2 separate regions of the Homo sapiens genome follow, and region 1 is linked to region 2. Evidence: promoter capture Hi-C in 16 types of primary human blood cells and fetal thymus (Javierre and others, 2016). All regions are on one chromosome and are shown on one strand. Each heading gives the region's core, a stretch centred on a gene start or on the middle of the fragment in contact. The rest is flanking DNA. Distances are from core to core; before and after follow the strand shown.

The links. Contacts are between HindIII fragments. The CHiCAGO score rates a contact against its expected background, and 5 or more counts as called.
Region 1: a contact is called between the fragment with the promoter of ATF1 here and a fragment that was not itself captured in region 2, in 1 of 17 cell types (M2 macrophages). The highest score is 5.1, in M2 macrophages.

The regions. Positions count from the first base shown.
Region 1 is chr12:50,760,298-50,766,490 of GRCh38, forward strand. It overlaps ATF1 (activating transcription factor 1), which reads left to right and starts at 3,804. Exons shown (of 7, transcript NM_005171.5): 1 at 3,804-4,010. RefSeq lists enhancers at 1,399-2,267, 4,568-4,667 and silencers at 3,758-3,837, 4,058-4,147. The HindIII fragment of the contact is 10,692 bases long and covers 1-5,987 here.
Region 2 is chr12:50,400,148-50,405,977 of GRCh38, forward strand. LARP4 (La ribonucleoprotein 4) reads left to right here and starts at 738. Exons shown (of 16, transcript NM_052879.5): 1 at 738-881. The coding sequence starts at 864. The HindIII fragment of the contact is 1,014 bases long and covers 2,090-3,103 here.

The DNA of each region.
Region 1 (6,193 bases), core at 2,554-5,053, 360 kb after region 2:
ACCCCATCTCTACTAAAAATACAAAAATTAGCCAGACGTAGTGGTAGGCGCCTGTAATCCCAGCTACTCAGGAGGCTGAGGCAGGAGAATCCCTTGAACCCAGGAGGCAGAGGTTGCAGTGAGCCAAGATACCCCCACTGCACTCCAGCCTGGGCGACAGAGCAAGACTCTGTCTCAAAAAAAAAAAAAAAATTACTTTCGGCTCTAAGTTTCTTTTTCTTTTTCTTTTTTTTTTTTTGAGGTGGAGTCTTGCTCTGTCACCCAGTCTAGAGTGCAGTGGCACGATCTCGACTTACTGCAACCTTCACCTCCTGGGTTCAAGGGATTCTCCTGCCGCAGCCTCCCAAGTAGCTGGGACCACAGGTGTGCTCCACCACGCTCAGCTAATTTTTTGTATTTTTGGTAGAGGCAGGGTTTTGCCATACTGGTCTTGAATTCCTGACCTCAAGTGATCCACCCACCTTGGCCTCCCAAAGTGCTGGGATTACGGAGGACGTGAGCCACCCTGCCCGGCCATGGCTCTAAGTTTCTTTGTTTCACTTTCCTTGCTTCTAATATTAAAGATCTGTCCATCTGATTTATGAAACTTACTATTCAGATAAACTGCATGCATCAGAACCAAGACCTCTTTTTTTTTTTCATCTAGTTATCACAGTTCAGAAGACTGGTAGGCACAGTTTATGATACTTCAATGAGAAAGAGACAAGAAAAGCAGAAGTATTTTTGAGGGGCAGTGTTGAACAAGCATAACTTTTTTTCTTCTTTTCCTCTGTCAACTGAGTCGTGGTTTTTTGTTTTTGTTTTTTTTTTTTGAGATGGAGTCTCACTGTTGCCCAGCCTGGAGTGCAGTGGCACGATCTCGGCTCACCACAAATTCCGCCTCCTGGGTTCAAGCGATTCTCCTGTCTCAGCCTCCCGAGTAGCTGGGACTGTAGGCTCACGCCATCACGTCTGGCTAACTTTTGTATTTTCAGTAGAGACGGAGTTTCGTCATATTTGCCAGGCTGGTCTCGAACTCCTGACCTCAGGTGATCCACCCACCGCGCCCTCCAAAGTGCTGGGATTACATGCGTAAGCCACCGTGCCCGGCCTGAGTTGTTTTTTAAACAATTTTAAAAAAAATTATTTTAGAGGCTAGGTGCCGTGGCTCATGCTCGTAATCCCAGCACTTTGTGAGGCTGAGCAGGCGGATCATTTGAGGTCAGCAGTTCGAGACCAAGACTGGCTAACATGGTGAAACCCCGTCCCTACTTAAAAAACTACAAAAATTAGCCAGCTGTGATGGCACACACCTGTAATCTCTCAGCTACTTGGAGGCTGAGGCAGGAGAATCACTGAAATCCGGGAGGTGGAGGTTGCAACGAGCCAAGATTGCACCAGTGCACTCCAGCCTGGGCGACAGAGGCAGACTCCATCTCAAAAAAAAAAAAAAAATTAGAGACAGTGTCTCATCTGTCATGTAGGCTTGAGTGCAGTGGCATGATCACAGCTCACTGTATCCTCAAACTCCCGAGCTCAAATGATCCTCCTGCCTCAGCCTCCCCAGTAGATGGGATTACAGGCGCATGCCACCAGGACTGGTCGAGCGTAACATTTGATTTAGACCTAAGGCACTAAGGAAGAGGAGCTAAAGAAGTAGTCAAGGCACATTTTGAAGGTTTCATTTTTCAATAAAATTTCCAGGTTTTTATTTTTTTTCTTTGGAGACAGTCTCCCTCTGTGGCTCAGGCTGGAGTGCAGTGGCGTGATCTTGGCTCACTGCAACATCTGCCTCCCAGGTTCAAGCGATTCTCATGCTTCAGCCTCCTGAGAGGCTGGGATTACAGGTGTGTGCCACCACACCTGGCTAATTTTTGTATTTTTAGTAGAGACGGGGTTTCACCATGTTGGCCAGGCTGGTCTCGAACTCCTGACCTCAGGTGATCTGCCCTCCCCCACCTCCCAAAGTGCTGGAATTACAGTCATGAACCACGACGCCTAGCCCCTCCCCCGCTTTTTACTGATCAACTTTTGTTAAGCATTCTGTGGTCCACGGAAGAAAAAACCAAACACCAAAGAACAATAAACTTGTACAACCAGCCTTCCAGCCATCAATATTCTGGATTCCAGAATGATTGAGGCTGGACTTTGTTAATCATCGAAGGCTGGTATCTGAGAAACTCTTCCTCTCCCTTACCTTTATAGGCCACTTTTCTTTCAGTAATGCTGAAACACTGACTTAATAACAGTTGTCCCCTGGTCTAGCATTTAATAGGTAATCCACAATTTTTGCTGAATGTCAATAGCTAAACGTTAGTGACCTCTTAAGACTGTCTGGCAGAGTAAATCTTCGGCTTTATATCACATTCTCCGACCCAAAGGGCCAAAAATAGGCAAAGCTCTCTCCACTAAATCGGTTTCCTAAATTGGGGATCTCAAACTAGTAAAATTTCAGAAAACTTTCGGAACTTTTGTCAAGAGCATACTAAAAAAGTTTATCTTTTGTCGTTTACTATCATTAAAGCCATAAAACAGCATTTTACAAGGAAATTTTAAAAATTAAGAATAAGGCATAACTCCCTTCCAGAGAGGTAGACCCAAAAATATTCTGAAGTTTTTGTAATGCATTAAAATGACGGCATAACATTTTATTAACACTCTGTTACGTTTCTTTTTTCTTTTTTTTTGAGACAGTTTTGCTCTTGTTGCCCAGGCTGGAGTGCAACGGTGCGATCTCGGCTCACCGCAACCTCCGCCTCCCGGGTTCAAGCGATTCTCCTGCCTCAGCCTCCCAAGTAGCTTGGATTACAGGCATTCGCCACCACACCCGGCTACTTTTGTATTTTTTAGTAGAGACGGGGTTTCTCCATGTTGGTCAGGCTGGTTTCGAACTCCCGATCTCAGGTGATCCGCCCTCCTGGGCCTCCCAAAGTGCTGGGATTACAGGCATGAGCCACCGCGCCCGGCCACATCGTTATGTCTCATTGTAAATCCGTTTCTGTAGAAAATCCTTCCACATGGGTTAAAGGACACAACTCATTGTTACTTTATGGGATTAAGAAAAATCTGAGTAAGGCCGGGCACGGTGGCTCACGCCTGTAATCCCAGAACTTTGAGAGGCCGAGGCGGAGGATCACTTGAGCCCAGGAGTTCAAGACCAGCCTGAGCAACATAGAGTCCTCATCTCTTCAAGCCGAGCGTGGTAGCGCGCGCCTGTGGTCCCAGCTGCCCCATAGGCTGAGGTTGGAGAATCGCTTGAATCCCGGGGTTGGAGGCTGCAGTGAGTCGAGATCGAACCACTGCACTACAGCCTGGGCCACAGACCCCCGTCTCAATCTCGGAAAAAAAAAAGAGACTCCATCTAAAAAAAAAAAAAAAAAAAAAAAGCTGAGGAAGTCAAAGCCTTCACTCTTCATTTCTCCTTCCAAGAGGACAGGGCCGGCGTCGGTCAAGGTCAATTGGCAGGTGAGTTGACAGCGCCGCCACTAATCGATGAAAACGCCCCCCGCGAGCACCCAGCTGCTCATGGCCTCCGGAAGCGGACGTAGGGCGGGTGGGGTACAGCTCCTAAGGAGAAACGGAACCGCAGGCACCGTCCCTCTCCCGCTGCAGCCTGAGGAACGCGTTCCGAGGAACCCCTAGCCACAAGTCAGGACCGCGTACAAGATGGCGGCGCGTCACGTGGGCAGCGCGGTGACGCAGGACGGCGGCCCGCGCGGAGGCAGCGCCATAGCCTACCCCAAACGCACACTAGTGCTCAGTTTTGCCCCCCTCCCCTCCCCCGCCCCCGCCCCCGCCCCCAGGCTTGTGTAGATCATGCCGCCAGTAGCGGCCCTGACTGCCGAGGAAACGGTAGCTTAGGACAGTTGGCTGTTAAGTGACACTGATTCTCCCCGCCCCGCCTGACCCCCGAGAAGGAGGCTTGTCCCCCGCTGCGTGAGGGGGTGGGGAAGTGGGTAGTGAATTCGGATCTACCTGGGAGGGGGGAGTGGAAGTTCCCGCCCCGGAGAGCGGCGAGGCGGCAGCCACAGGTAAGTGGGGGGCGGGGAGGGACGTGCCCCGTGGCCCGGGCGGGGAAGGACGCGGGAACGTGGCGCCGGCGGGGACGCAGCGCGGGTCGCGCGCCTGGTGGGGGTCGCGCGCGGTGGTGGCGGTGGGGGAGGGGCGCAGCGGCAGGGGGAGGGGCCGCCCGCGCTTCCGGCCTCCGCGCCTCGGTGCAGAGCTGCGCTGCGCCCTTCCAGTCGTGCGTCTCCTCCTTTCCCTCGCCCCCAAATAAAAGTAAAGCCCGAAACCGCCCGCCGCGGGGTGGCTTTCGCCTCAGAAGCCGCCCTTTGCAGTCGCAGGCGCTAGCTCTCCGTGGGAGGTCTCGAGGTTGGGCCCGGAGCCGGGCGGAGGGCGGCGCGGATATGGCCTCGGCGCGGTGTCCGCCGAGCGGAGCCCGGGTCTGGTTAACCCCGCGACAGGGTCCTCGAAGCGCGTCGGCGCTGGCGACCCTGAGGGAAGAGGCGCGCCCCTTACCCTCCTGGAGCTTGCAGTCTAGCGGGCAACCGACGCACGGGCATTGCGCACGCCCCAGACAGTCCTGGAGAGATGCGCCTGGCAGCGGAGACAGAGTGGGGACAGTAGGCGGCTTTACCCCTGGCTAGGAATGACACAAGGGCGTCTGTACCCTTTGGGATGGGCGACCCAGCCGAGGGTGACTTTCTCTTTGATCTTGTATGTCAAAAAACGAAGCCTGGCATTTCTCACTTTGATCGACGCCGTGCAGCTGGCGGCTGAATCGCTTTGAAATGATTGCAATGTGAAATAATGTCTGGTTGTGGCGCTAGTGTTTTGAAGAGATTGGGCAACTGGTAGTCTTTGAGAACCTTTAGGGTTCAGAAGCTCGGCGTGGATCTGGCAGGCATCTTTGTCAAACTGGCCTCACCTGTGATGAGTTCGTAGGCATTTATGTCTCAGAATGCATTTTAACCTGAGGTTTTTGTTAACAGAAATGCGTTCTTCTAAAATGCTCTTTTTTCTTGGAGTTTATCATATGCAGTTATCTCCGTGTCTTAATTAGAATCAATACTGTTGCCCTAAAGTCGAATGTATTAGCTCTTTAATACTTGCCGTTATCTTTTAGGGTTAGGTTTGGTCTGTGAGCTATCTGTCCATTCCTACCCGATCACCAGCAGGTGGCAGTCCCTTCTGACTTTAAATATAGGGTGTGCTATCTTTGCCAGTTTTTGTTTTGTTTTGTTTGTTTGTTTGTTTGTTTTTAAATAGAGATGGTGTCAGAGGCGTGTGAACTAGAACAACTCCATCTTAAACAGGAGCTGGGTAAAATGAGGCTGAAACCTACTGGGCTGCATTCCCAGACAGTTAAGGCATTCTAAGTCACAGGATGAGACAAGTCAGCACAAAATACAGGTCATGAAGACCTTGCTGATAAAACAGGTTGCAGTAAAGAAGCCGGCCAAAACTGAAATGGCCACAAGAGTGACCCCTGGTCATCCTCACTGCTACACTCCCATCAGCGCCATTTACAAATCCCATGGCAATGTCAGGAAGTTACCCTATATGGTCTAAAAAGGGGAGGCGTGATTAATCCACCCCTTGTTTAGCCTATCATTGAGAAATAACAGTAAAAAGGGGTAACCAGCAGCCCTTGGGGCTGCTCTGTCTATGGAGTAGCCGTTCTTTTTATTCCTTTACTTTCTTCATAATGTTACTTTTACATCGCACTGTGGACTTGCCCTGAATTATTTCTTGCGCGAGATCCAAGAACCCTCAGTTGGGGCCTGGATCAGGACGCCTGTCCTGTAACATATTTCTGGCGACCACAAAGGGACTATAGTGCAGAAACCCTGACCCAACGGCTACCTTTGGGTAAGTGTTGGGGTCCTGTAACGTATTTGTGGTGGCCACAGAAGCGACTATACTGCGGAAACCCAGTATTTATGTTTAGGAGTCTCTCCTAAGACAGTGGGTTCGAGGCCCCTCTTAATAAAAGGCAAGGACGCTTAAGCTTGACTGACCTTGGGTTGGAGGCCCTTCTAAGATATAGGGAGTTAGAGTCCCTCTCAGGTAACTCCCTCTCAGCTAAGAACAGGTTTGGCACTATGGGATATTAACTGCTGTTCTCTTTGGATTAATCTGCCTTGCGCTCTTTGCTGATGGCTGTGGGTGACAGAGTTAGGCATGAACAGGATCGTGGGACATGGGGAGCTTT
Region 2 (5,830 bases), core at 1,347-3,846:
AATTTTAAAAATTTTGTTTTTATTGTATTTCGTTTGAATTAATGACAGAACGTCAAAGAAGACACTGTCCAGATTAAGTGTTATTACTGGTATATTAAGCGGTGACATGGGTAATTAATTCAAATGAGCCTGGGGCAAAGTTCTTTAAAGGGAAACCCGACCTCCTAGAGGGCTTCTTCAACTGTAAAATGGGGATGATAATAATAGTGTTTATTGCATAGAATTGTTTTAAGATCAATTAACATAAAATGCTTAGTATAGTGCCAAACACAATGTAAGCATTTAATATACATTAGCTGCTATTAACATATTTGCTAGTATCATAGTTTTTTGTTTTTTTTTTCTTGTCTACTTTTCTTCTGTGAGCCACCACTTTTCGGCAGGGTTGGTTTGTTCAGTACACTTCGCCAAGGTCGGCTTTAAAAATCAAATCTAGATTGTGAACTATGAAAACTGCGGAATTATCAGTGCTGTGTAGCTATCTGACAAGTGATAAAATGTGTCATTACGATTTTTACACATCCCCGTGCCACAGAATGGCGTCTCCTTCTAATCGTTCCCCCCGACAGATGATAGTACATCCCACACTGCTGCTGGAAAAGATAGTGCAAAAGTTGAGCGCGCCGAGGGCTCTCTTTTCTCCCGGAAACAATTTTTCCCTAGACCCGGAAGCAGTTGTTGTTTCAAGGGAGGTGGGACTGGGCGGGTCAGGCCGCAGCGGCTGACGGCAGGGGAGGAGCCGGGTCCACTGCCGGGTGGAGGGGCAAGGCGAGTGTGTGTCCTTATCCTAGCAATTGGGGCGCGGGCCTGTGAGCCAGTTGGAGTTGCGGCGGCGGGAACGATTGGGCTGAGCAGAGGACGACATGTTGCTTTTCGTGGAGGTGAGTGCATTATGCTAGTCTCGTCCTGCTCTTAGGAGAGCAGGAGTGTAGAGGCGCCGGCCGGTCCCACCGCCATGTGACTTTCCGGGCCGTACACGCCGCGGAACCGGCAGATAGGCTGACACAGCACCTGGGCCGAGCAGGCCTGCAGCTTCCCTCTGCGCGCTCACAACACTCTAGGAAGCTATGGGAGGTGAGGCCCGTAGTGGAGAAGAATTGAAGGAGAAAAACGGAGGGCTGTTCTGGTGTGGCGGTGAGGTTCAGAGGAAGGGGAAAGTGTCCCATATGGACCTCCTAAAGGAGGCAGCATTGGGGGGTTGGGGGGCGGAGTCTGAGGGAGGAGAGGGTAATCAGGTGGGCGCGTTCCGGGGGCCGAGCGCGGCCTCGCGGGGCCCCTCTGGGAGGGAGGCGAGCAACATGTGGGGCCACGGATGGAGAAAGGTGAAATGCGGTAAGTATTTTGAAAAGAAAATTGAAAAGTTCTTTTGAGCAACTTCCACCAAATTCTGCCCGGGCCCCGTCCCTAGGTCTCTGGAACGTTCTGTGGGTGAAAGCGAGTTACTTTGAATCGAGGAGAAGCCAGTAGGGTTTGGAAGCCTTGAAAGGCACCGCTTTGACCTTTTGTAAAAGTTACTCAAGCAGCAGCTGCGTGATGAAGGGTTGGTTCTATGAACCGATTAAAAGCCCTTTACAAGGAAAATTCCAAGAATGAGGGAAACTTATTCCGGGAAAAGCCGTTTTTTGTAATGTTATTTGAACAATGAGACACTTTTATTACTTAAACTAGAACGTCTGCTGTTGGCCTATTTTAGTTTTCAAGATAGAGTTGGATACCTGCCTTACAGAAATACGAAATTTAATTTCCCTTAATTCTGTCCTCTTGTGTGCAGTGAGCGTCAGCTGACTGCCTGGCTAATGCTTTGAGTAGATTCCAGATCATATTGTTCTTACATTGTGAAAACGTCAAACCAGCAAAGCTGCAACTTCGCAACTTGGCATTTGTTAACTATGCCCATAAGAAGAATCTTTTCAATGAGGGAAGGAATTTACGGGTTGTATAATGAATCTAGGAGCCGGGGCCAGCCTATGGCAGATTTTTTTTTCCGGGTTGTGGGAAAATCTTACTCCGTAATATTCCAGCATAAAGTAAATAAATGATTTTACGGTTTTTTTTTCTCTTTAAACTAACTGATATTGTGTCGCCGATAAGCTTGATATCTTTAAATTAGTTTTTTAAAAGACTGCTACATTAGAGTGTATCTAACATTCATAATAAACATTCATTGGAACATTCCGGGGAAATCATGAAAAGACTTAAAATTACTGAACTCATTCTGTTTACTGTTTTCTGTCCTCATTGTTGTTTTCCTTAGGCAGAATAAGAAATCAGATAAGATTTTAAGCCAGTGCCAGCCAGTTTTTTTAAGGAATGTTATGCTATGTAAATACCACAGGTTTTAAGTGTGTGTTTTGCTGGGCAGAAGAAAGATTGTGAAGTTTATATTGACAGGAACTCCACAATATACTTTTGACTTCCAAATTGATTCCTTTGGCTTTATTAAAATGTAAGTTTTAATAACAGCTCCATTTATTGTTTAAACTAGGTCTTCTCCTGTCTCTAAAGCGATACTTAATATGTTTTACAGATGACAAAACCGAGCCCCAGAGGTTAAAGTAACTTTACTTAGTAAAAGTAAAGTAGTTTAACTGGGATTTAGATCCAGGTCATGCTGATGTCAAATCATGGACGGGATGTTAGCAATTCAGGCCTGTCCGACTCCCCAGGTTAGACAAATTCTATCGTATCTCTCGCCAAACTAGTGTTTAAAAGTTGTATCTCCATTAATCATTTTCTTTGTGAGTCACTATGTCATTCTTCATTTTCTCATATGAGTTTTATTGAAAATTAACTGTCTTTAAATATTTGGGGCTGAATATGTGGTATTAAAATCAGTGAAAAACAACATGTTGGTCGTTTGGCGTTTTGTTAACTAATATTTGATCCCTGTAACCTCATGATAGAGGAATTATTCTCAGTGAGAGAACCAAAGCTCAGAAGTTAGATGTCTAAGGTCATTCAAGTGTAAATAATGTGGGGGCTAAAGTCTGAAGTCTGACTTCTAGAACATAAATTTCTGGCTTCAAAATTATTTTTGTACTTTCCCATAAGTCAAAGGTTCTTAATCTAGGTTTTTGGATAGAATTGAGGAAGTAAGTACCTAAGCTTGGTTGAGGAAAAAAATTTGCGTGTTTATTTTCTCTAGCTTCTAACTGAAATCTAAATGGAAAAGAAGTGAAAATTCTTTAAATGTTAATGGCAGCAACAGTGTATGTGACCTTGTCACCAAGACAAATCACTTTTTTACATGTATTACAGCTTTTGCAGTTATCTTGAAATATTTATGCTCATTACTTGCTATATGTCAAAAATATTGTTAACGTATTGCTATATTAGACATTTTAAAATATTTTGATAACTGCGTTTCAATATAATTGGTTTACTTTGTGATCCTATATATTTTAGAAATGTAAAAAAACGGAGAAGAGATCCATAGATTAATTGGACTACTAAAGAGGTCTGTGTCACAGAAGAGGTTAAGAACTGCTTTACTAAACCAACTTGCTTGTGGATCATCTTTGGCAGGGTTAATCTGGGATCCCTGGGTCCTCTGCAGTTGTGTTCAATACCTTTTACTTATGTGTATTTTTCTGGAGAGATTCCAGCTTAACTATCCCACTAGAATCAGTAGGATAGATAATAGCAATATAACAATAACAACAGTAGTAGTATATACTTGTATCGTGCTTTGTGTCAGGAACGTTTGATGTTTTTGCATATATAGATATCTGTACATCTTAAGTCTCAATATCTCTATGAGGTGTTAGTATCCCCATTTTAGTGATAAGTAAGGCAGCTGGGCGCAGTGGCTCATGCCTGTAATCCCAGCACTTTGGGAGGCTGAGGTGGGTGGCAAATCACCTGAGGTCAGGAGTTTGAGATCAGCCTGGCCAACATGGTGAAACCCCATCTCTACTAAAAATACAAAAATTAGCCAGAGGTGGTGGCACACACCTGTAATCCTAGCTACTCGGGAGGCTAAGGTAGGAGAATCGCTTGAACCTGGGAGGCAGAGGTTGCAGTGAGCTGAGATGGCACCACTACACTCCAGCCTGGACAACAGAGTGAGACTCTGTCTCAAAAAAAAGAAACTAAGGCACATATAATTTAAACTTGCCTAAGTTTATACAGCTAGTGAACATGGAAGCTTGTATTAGAACTCATCAACCACCTACTTGTATTGGAGTAGAATATATTGCAGACAAGGAATCAATCCTATGTAAATAATACTTAGATGCAACTTTTTAAAACCTGGCCTTGGGCCCAATGTGGTGGCATGTACCTGTAGTCCCAGCTACTAGGGAGGCAGAGGCAGGAGTTTCGCTTGAGTATGGGAGGTCAAGGCTGGAATGAGCCGTGATTGTGCCACTGCATTCCAGGCCGGGTGACAGAGCAAGACCAACTATATTGACTTCAGTAGATTATTGGTTTGTTTTATTTTTTTCCTCTTGAGACCGAGTCTCGCTCTGAGACCGAGGCTAGAGGGTGGCGCAGTCTCAGCTCACTGCAACCTCCGCCTCCTGGGTTCAAGCAGTTTTTTTTTTTTTTTTTTTTTTTTGAGACGGAGTTTCCACTCTTGTTGCCCAGGCTGGAGTGCAGTGGCGCCATCTCGGCTCACTGCAACCTCCACCTCCTGGGTTCAAGTGATTCTCCTGCCTCAGCCTCCCGAGTAGCTGGGACTGTAGGCGCATGCCACCACGCCCAACTAATTTTTGTATTTTTAGTAGAGATGGGGTTTCACCATGTTGGCCAGGATGGTCTCGGTCTCTTGACCTCATGATTCGCCCACCTCGGGCTCCCAAAGTGTTGGAATTACAGGCGTGAGCCACCACACCTGGCGGGTTCAAGCAGTTCTGCCTCAGCCTCCCTAGTAGCTGGGACTTCAGGCATGTGCCACCATGCCTGGCCTTTTTTTTTTTTTTCCTGATTTTTAGTAGACACGGGTTTCACGATGTTGGCCAGGCTGGTCTCGAACTGCTGACCTCAAGTGATCCGCCCGCCTTGGCCTCCTAAAGTGCTGGGATTATAGGCGTGAGCCACCGCGCCTGGCAGATTTTTTTTCCACCTCTGTTCTGAAGGAGAAACAAACAATGTCCCTCTCTGGAAAGAGGTAAAAGTTTGGATGATTCACAAAGTCATCAAACATGACCTGCCATGAATTCTTTTACAACAAATTGTTTGTAAGTTTGAAACTGCAGTGTACTACCTTCATCTGAATGCTATCAAGTTACTTAAAACTTGTGAGCCCTAAGGAGGCAGATAGTAATTTAAAAAAATTTTTTCATTTCTCTCTTTTATTTACAGTTTTTTTTTTAATTTTTAATTTTTTGAGACACAGTCTCGTTTGCTGCAGCCTCCACCTCCCCAGCTCAAGTGATCCTCCCACCTCAGTCTCCAAAGTAGCTGGGACTATAGACATGTACCACCATGCCTGGCTAATTTTTTTCTTTTTTGGTATTTTTTGTAGAGACAGGGTTTTGCTTTTTTGCTCAAGCTGAAATTTTTGTTTAAATAAAAAAAATTAAAACTAGAGACTGGGAAGGGTGGGTATGCAGTGACTACTGAAATTGGGTTTCTGTCTCTGTTTGAGTTTTTCCCTGAAAATGAAGACAGTTGTCCCTCAGTATTTGTGGGAAATTGGTTCCAGGACCCTCTGTAGATGCCAAAAACCTTGGATGCTCAAGTCTTACATAAAAAGGCATAGTATTTGCGTAGCACCTATGCACATCTTTGTGTATATGTTAAATAATCTCTAGATTATTTATAATACCTATTAAAATGTAAATGCTTTATAAATAGTTGCTATACTGTATTATTTATAGAGTGATAA